Regions from separate parts of the Homo sapiens genome. Here region 2 is linked to region 1. Evidence: promoter capture Hi-C in human tissues and cell types (Jung and others, 2019). All regions are on one chromosome and are shown on one strand. The core of a region is centred on a gene start or on the middle of the fragment in contact, and the rest is flanking DNA. Distances in the headings are between cores, read along the strand shown.

The links. The method cuts DNA at HindIII sites, captures the fragments that hold promoters and counts their contacts. A contact is called where the count stands out against the background at its distance.
Region 2: a fragment that was not itself captured here is called in contact with the fragment with the promoter of RRH in region 1 in 1 of the 25 tissues and cell types used here (spleen).

The regions. Positions count from the first base shown.
Region 1 is chr4:109,825,807-109,829,850 of GRCh38, forward strand. It overlaps RRH (retinal pigment epithelium-derived rhodopsin homolog), which reads left to right and starts at 2,166. Exons shown (of 7, transcript NM_006583.5): 1 at 2,166-2,327. The coding sequence starts at 2,222. The HindIII fragment of the contact is 8,882 bases long and covers 1,072-4,044 here.
Region 2 is chr4:109,685,083-109,689,378 of GRCh38, forward strand. It overlaps MCUB (mitochondrial calcium uniporter dominant negative subunit beta), which reads left to right. Exons shown (of 8, transcript NM_017918.5): 7 at 169-285; 8 at 2,433-3,637. The coding sequence ends at 2,510. It overlaps CASP6 (caspase 6), which reads right to left. Exons shown (of 7, transcript NM_001226.4): 7 at 3,546-4,296. The coding sequence ends at 4,248. Among named protein-coding and RNA genes, the nearest start is that of CASP6, 16 kb to the right of the region's middle. The HindIII fragment of the contact is 5,769 bases long and covers 63-4,296 here.

The DNA of each region.
Region 1 (4,044 bases), core at 916-3,415:
TTTTTTAACATTAAAAATAAATCTAAAATGGCAATAATGGAAATAACATATAGATCAGTAGACAAACCAGTTGGAAATTTTACCGTTTAGCTTATGTATATCTTTTTTTCATTGTCCATCTTTAAGCTTTTATTTCCACATCTTTTCCTTTTTTTTCCTTATAGTTTCTGGGTTTATTTATTTGTTTATTTATTATTATTATTTTTTGAGACGGAGTTTTGTTCTTGTTGCCCAGGCTGGAGTGCAATGGTGCAATGTCGGCTCACTGCAACCTCTACCTCCCGGGTTCAAGCGATTCTCCTGCCTCAGCCTCCCAAGTAGCTGGGATTACAGGCATGCGCCACCATGCCCGGCTAATTTTGTATTTTTAGTAGAGATGGGGTTTCTCCATGTTGGTCAGGCTGGTCTCGAATTCCTGACCTCAGGTGATCCGCCTGCTTTGGCCTCCCAAAGTGCTGGGATTACAGGTGTGAGCCACTGCGCCTGGCCTAGTTTCTGGGTTTTTTTGAGGCATTTCATTTTGAATCAAATTCACATGTATTTCTAAGCCTTATCCCAATATAGCTTTTCTGTATCACCCATGAAGGAAGCATAAAAAAGAACTTCAAATGCACCTACCTCACTCATATCAAAACTTTCATCTGCAGCAGAAAGCTGACTATCTGAAATTATATATTTTTCAGTTCTTAGAAATAATTATTTCTGGAAAATTTTTCATGGATGCTACAACTAGGTATAACTTATTACAGAAAAGGAAGGTAGTATGACCCAAAGCAAATTCAAAAATTTTAAGTTTTGTTTTGCATATTGAATGAAAGAAAAGACAAAGACTTTTTAAAGGGAGTGATTTCCTCTTGGGTATTATGTTTTTTGCTCTAGGGTCATTTGAAAACAATACTGACGAGATTCGCTTTTCTAGTATAGGTATAACAATATTACATTTATAAAAATGTGAGTACTGGTAGCTATAAGATTTGGGACAGATAAATCAACCTGTTCATCTTGAGTTTATACACAGGCAAGAGAACTGAAGCAAAAGGATTATCTTAGGTTTCTGCTGTGCCATTCTAGGATTTTTATAAAATTAAACTAAGTGGGTAAATATAGCCCTCTAGTGGTTCTGTTTTATGCTTACACTGTTAACTTTGGTGCATCTAAGCATTTCTCTAATGTTTACTGATTTTAGGAAACTGAGGAGAATCAGATTTTAATAATGTTAATGGCATAAAGAATATGGGAAAAAAGGTAATAGGGATACCTTATTATTCTAACAAAACATGCTCAGGTTGGTTTTCAGGTTGTAATGTGATAATCCAGAATATTTTTATTCTGTACTTTACAATATCAGTGATTGAATTCAGATACTCTGGCAAAGTATACAATGATTACTATCATCAGATAATATTAATTACTCATGTGCATATCAAACTATAGGGGAAATTAACGGATGGTGGAGTTGATCATATTATATCCATGCTATGAAATACATAGCTACTAATAAATTAGACTTTATTAGATTCTGGGTTTATTAACTTGGATATTATAATACAGCCTTATGGGAAAACAAGTTGCATTATATATATACATTTGTACTTATTTTTTTCCCTCATTTTTATTTACAAGAAGAAAGTGGAGGAAACCTGAAACACTTGTATGAATATGTGTATAAGCAGAGAAAAGCCTAAGAAAGGATATGCACCAAACAATACTGGTACCTTTAGGAGAGTGAGATTTGGAAGTAGGAAGGAGACTACTTCTTTGTCACTAATATTTAAATTGTTAAGAAAAAAAAAACAACAAAAGGAGCCGAAATGGAAAGACTTGAATGGTCAACAGAAAACAGGGACCTTAATCCGAATAGTTTTAGAGGACTAAGGCTGGCTCCTATACTGATTTCCTGAGTTTGTTTATTGTTAAATGGGATGTGTGTGCTTGATAATCTCCTTAGATAGAAGACTGATGCCCAAATAGGTTAAAATGTGTGGTGCTTGGTATTTCTTTTTGTTTTGCTAATAAGCTTTTCCCTTATTCTGGGAATTAAAGTCCTTTCCTCTTTAGCCCAATTAAATTTGTTAAGGGAGGGCCTCTATGAAAAGGCCCTTCTTTGAGGTCTCTAAGTGGAAATGATTGGTCCTAAAAAATCTTTCCTCAGTAGCTCATAAAGCAGTTCATAATTATCGAAGGCTTATTATGAAGGGTGTTTCGGTATCTTCCCTCCAAAATGCTAAGAAATAATTTAGGCAACAGTTCAGACTCTAAAAATGAAGATGGCTCGGTCTTTTCACAGACTGAACACAATATTGTTGCAACTTACTTGATTATGGCAGGTATGGATATTTAAGTAAGTTATTTTTCTTTAGAATGGGTGAAGAAAGGCAGAAGTTTTCAGCATAAGGCATGCATTGTTTCAAGTTCCATATTATTGGCCAACCTTGACAAGTCATTTATCCTGACTTGGCTTGCTCGTTGGTAAATGAGGATGATGATACTCTATTTCTGGGCTGTAAAGATCAAATAAGATAATGTGGGTGAAAGAATAAGGGAAAGCATTGTTAGTGATGGCCATTGCCACAGGTTATTTTGAATTTTGGTAAATAAGAGCAGTGAAGTGGGGCTGAGAAAAGTTTTCTATGTGATAAATAGTTCTTTCATAAAAATCTATGTATTTGATTATTGGATTGTTAAAGTTTTTATTGGAGAAGAGTATGCACCATGGCAAAAACATATTTTTATGTCATTTACTATTCTTATACATAACCCTCATATTTTTGTTCTTGGTGGTAGAATTTAGCTAAGAACTTAAAGGTTCTGGAAAGAAAAAGTCCTAAGAAGACAGAGCAGGGTATATTGTCATTGAGGACAGAGTCTGAAAATTCAGCTTGTTCCAGAATGCTTATTGGAAAACTCTTGAGTTTTGGATTTCATCTTTTAGTATATTTGCAACTGTGAGCATGTATCTTCCCTTTTTGTTCTTCCATTTTCTCATCTGTAAAACAAGGATAAGAATAAGTTATCTGTCATGATTGTTATAAGGAGTAAAATTAAGTGACACATAAATGCCATATAGTAGGTGTTGGACAAATATTTGTTTCTTTTTCCCTTTCCTCCCTACACACTCATTGATGTAAAGGATTGTTTGCAGAAAAAAAGGGATGGGGGAATGACAGAAACTTTTTATCTTTTTAATGTATCATTGAATTGTGTAACTTTTATATTGAGCAATCACTTAATTTTCAACTTTATACTCTAACGAGTTGTAGAAGTAACTCTTATATTGAGTTCATTATTTTTTGGATTGACTTTTATAAAAATTTTCAAACATTCAAAAGTAGAGTGAAAAGTATAACACACCATCCTATACCCAGTTTATAATTGTTTACGTTTCTTCCTTATAATTCAGCGTATTACTTCTAGTACTGGAAATTGAGTTCCTCAGTTAAGTTTTGCGATTTTAGTGACGTTATCTCGTTCATTTGAATACCTCTATGATAAGTACTAGACAAGTTCTAGTTTTTTTGTAATTGCAAAAAAGACTGAGAAAATCTCCTAACAATTACATGGAAATACTTTGTATACAAGTGTTTGGTTTAGTTAGTTATTTGTAGATGACCAAAAAAAAAAAAAATCCAAAAAACAACCAAAACTATCCTTTTTTGACCTGGTTACAAAATTAGCATGCAGAAAATATTCTATTTAGTTCTTATCTCTGTAACAGTAATAATAATAGTAATCTTACTACTACTGCTACTAATGTTATCATTTGAATACTTGCTATATACCAAGCACTGTTCTAAAACCTTACACATACAGAATAATTCATCCTTACACTAATTTAGTAAGTTACTCTTCAGTTTTATTTCTCTAGTTTATACAGATGAAGAGCTTAAGAAACTTGTCCAGCACACACATTTACTAAGCAGCTACACCAGGATTTGAACCCAGGCATTTTGGTTCTAGAGCCCTCACATATAAATCCAAGAGTCAGCTTTATCAAGGTATACAATGAGTGTGTGTTGTTTGTGTTTCTGGTGGATCCACTGAAGG
Region 2 (4,296 bases), core at 1,697-4,196, 140 kb before region 1:
ACTAAATGTTTTGTGTTGGCTTATGCTTACTCTCATGGCCATTGCAAATATTTCACTCATTCATCTGCCTTCTTTTGCTTTGGTGTTGCTGAGTCAAGTATCTTTCTTGCAGAGGCATTATGTTCATTCAAAACATGTTGTTTTCTTCTCTCTCTCTTTTTTTTTAAGGATTATACTTACTCAGCTGTTAAGAGTAGGCAATTTCTTCAGTTCTTCCACAAGAAATCAAAGCAACAGCACTTTGATGTGCAGCAATACAACAAGTTAAAAGAAGACCTTGCTAAGGTATACTACAAATACATCTTATAGCTGGTTTGTTTGGGAGCCAGAACTTAGTATCAGGGAAGTATAACTGGTGGCTCATCCTCACAAATTAAATCTTGGTCCTAGATTTCTGTGTGTTGTGGGATTGTTCATTGAAATGGTTGACATATTTCATATTAATTTCATATCCCAGTTTTACTCTTCTGTACATGAAGATAGCTTTAAATATGTGTGTTAAAATTTCTTAAATGACTTGAGATAGTAAAATAAAAGTTTTCACTGGAAATCCATTTCTAAGCAAATAATAAAAAATAGCATTTTAGGAAGGTGAACACTGTGATAAGGAACTTAAGGCATTTATAAGTTTCTTGTCCCTAAAGATAGAAGAATCATTATAGTATTCCTCCCTTCATCTTTTTCCCTTCTGAAAGGCACTTACTCAGGTATACACTGCTAAAAAGTGAAGGAACCATGGTACGAACACAAGTTTGATTTCGGAGTCTATATTCTTAAGTACTTTTTCACAGTCTGCTTGTTAGCCAGTTATCTCTGGCCTCCCAATTTACTCATTAACTTTGTTCAGATGGTGACTTCTCAGCACATCACTGGATTTTTCATTTTTATCAGTAATTTCATAACAAAAAAGTTTGGTAAAAATATCCTCCATTGCTCAATGCATGCTTGTTTAGTAGCTGGTAATCAAACCTTTTGTTATGTGTACTTTCTAAATTACTCATCCCTAGAATTTAAAACAGAATCACTCAAATTTTGTAGTCCAAAAATTGAAGGACGTTTTAATTTAAATTTTTTTGAGACAGATTCTTGCTGTTGCCCACACTAGAGTGTAGTGGTGCAATCTCAGTTCACTGCAACCTCCGCCTCCTGGGTTCAAGTGATTCTTGTGCCTCAGCCTCCTGAGTTAGCTGTGATTATAGGCGCCCGCCACCACACCTGGTTACTTTTTGTATTTTTAGTAGAGACAGAGTTCCACTATGTTGTCCAGGCTGGTCTCAAACTCCTAACCTCAAGTGATCCACCTGCCTTGGCCTCCCAAAGTGTTAGGATTACAGGTGTGAGCCACCATGTCCAGCCAAGCCTTTTTAAAAAATGTATTTTATTTCATATAGTCATTCTATAGGAAAAATATAATGCTTTTAAAAAAAATTTGTGGATTCCCTTATATTTGAATAATCCTATCTGAGAAGGCTAAGGAATGTTCTTTCAGCTAGTTTACAAGACAGTGCATTTGAGATTTAGAAGGTAAGCCTAGTGTGATCCCAGTGATTTGGGAGGCTGAGGTGGGAGGATCTCGAGTCCAGAAATTGGAGACCAGTCTAGTCAACATAGTGAGACCTCATCTCTACAAAATTTGTTTTTAAATTAGCTGGACATGGTGGCACATGCTTGTAGCCCTAGCTACTTGGGAAGCTGAAGCAGGAAGATCCCTTGAACCCAAGAGTTCCAAAGCTGCAGTGAACTATGATCACACCACTGCACTCCAGCCTGGGCAACAGAGCAAGACCCCATCTCTAAAATAAAAAAATTTAAATATAACACCTTGTTAATTATGTTTAAGGTAATAAAGTGGAGATAAAAAGATAAAGTGGTAGGTTAAGGGTTTTTTTTTTAAGAATATTAAGTGGAAAACCATTATAAAGGGTATAAACTGTATTTTTTTTTAAGGCATAAGGATGAATTAGTAAACTTAAACTCATCTTTTAAAAAGATCCACATATAAAATTGAAATATTTATATCCCGTCACTTTGGGAAGCCAAGGTGGGCAAATCACTTGAGTCCAGGAGTTCAAGACCAGCCAGAGCAACATGGCAAAACTCCATCTCTACAAAAAATACCAAAAAATATTAGGTGGGCATGGTGGTGGGCACCTGTGGTCCTAGCTACTTGGGAGGCTGAGGCAGGAGAATGACTTGCACCAGGGAGGCAGAGGTTGCAGTGGGCTGAGATGGTAGCACTGCACTCCTGCCTGGGTGACAGAATGAAACCCCATCTCAAGAAAAATATATATATATTTCAGCCATTTGCCACTAATAGTTTAAACATTTTATTGCTGTAAGGAGACGCTAAGTTTATAGAATTCCTCTCAAGCAGTAATGTTGGTATGTTTCTCTTCTTTCTGATCACATGCTTTTTCTTTTTCCCATGACAGGCTAAAGAATCCCTGAAACAGGCGCGTCATTCTCTCTGTTTGCAAATGCAAGTAGAAGAACTCAATGAAAAGAATTAATCTTACAGTTTTAAATGTCGTCAGATTTTCCATTATGTATTGATTTTGCAACTTAGGATGTTTTTGAGTCCCATGGTTCATTTTGATTGTTTAATCTTTGTTATTAAATTCTTGTAAAACAGAAGTATTGTTTGAAGTTCTCAACTGAGATTTTTACTTTTTGGATTTTTATGACTTGCTAATGTTAGAAAGGGCTTGTATGCGTCTATCAAAGCAACGGTGGCTGCTGTTAGCTAAAAATCCTTGTCAGCTTGTCCCACGTTTATTCTCTATGTGGAGGTGAAAGGGTCTGTGCTTGGCATTCACTTCCATTCTTAGACTTAATTTGGAATCATCCTTTTAAAAAAATCAGAGACCAGGTCTTGCCAAATCAAACTCCTGGGCTCAAGCAACCCTCCTGCCTCAACCTCCCACGGAATCGTCTTGTCATTAACTTCTTTTTTTAATATGCAGTAGTTGGGAGTAAGATCTTTTTATCATTTATCAAAAAGGCATAAATGTTCCACCAACCATAAAGTATAGTTGGTACTTTTTGAACTTCAACTGAAACAGTGTATATAAACGATTGCTTTTGAACCTGCAAATCACAAGTTTCAGGTATCGAAGCCAAAACAGTTAACTTTCTTCAGCCTCTGGCAGATTATTAACAAAACAGTATTATTCAGATTCTATATCATATTAATAAGAATTGAACCTTGAAAGTAACATCTGTTATTCTATTAATGTGATTGTGTGTGAATGGGTCTGATGACTGTTGGACTGTTTGTAGGAACTTAACATGGAAGATGCTGACAGAATCAGATTTTGCAGGTGTTCAACCTATAGTGGCTAAGAATTATGTTTTCTATTTCATCCTCAGAATGCCATACAACAATTCTGGAATGCTGATTTTTTTTAAAGTAGGAATTAAAGTCATACACAAAATGTGGTAATTCATATGTAGATGAAATATTAAACATTTAAATGACCGAGTAAAAAACATCTATCAATTACACAAATGAACAAGAATGTGAGTTAGAAAAATGTAATAAAATATGAATTTCGAATATTTTATTAAGGGATGATTTAATTCCTGGATTTCAAAAACCTTTAAAAACATCAAACAATAAACTTTTATAAAAAAGTGACAAAATACAAGTTAAATCAGCTAGATTTTTGTGTAACCCTGCAGTTTATTAAAAAATAATACAAATGCTTATAAATTTTTATTTATCTAATTTCCTGAGGATTTTGTTTCTCCATATCAAACCCTTTCACCATGGCCAACATGAACTTTTTTTTTTTTTTTTTAAGGCAGTTCTCTGCTAGGCATTAAACTTTAAAACATTTGAATCATTAGACCATAATGCTTCACCCTAACGATATTTATATAAAAGGAAGAGAAAGACATTTTCTTTTTTTTGAGACGGAGTTTCACTCGTTGCCCAGGCTGGAGTGCAATGGCGCAATCTCGGCTCACCGCAGCCTCCACCTCCTGGGTTCAAGTGATTCTCCTGCCTCAGCCTTCCAAGTAGCTGGGATTGCAGGCATGCGCCGCCATGCCTAGCTAAATTTTTTTTTGCATTTTTAGTAGAGACGGGGCTTCTCCATGTTGGTCAGGCTGGTCTCGAACTCCCGACCTCAGGTGATCCGCCCACCTTGGACTCCCAAAGTGCTGGGATTACAGGTGTGAGTAACCACGCCTGGCTGAGAAAGCCATTTTCAATACAGAGTGTAAAATTAGATAGCCTCTATTAATTAATTAGATTTTGGAAAGAAATGCAGCTTTTTAGTTAGCATTGAGGCA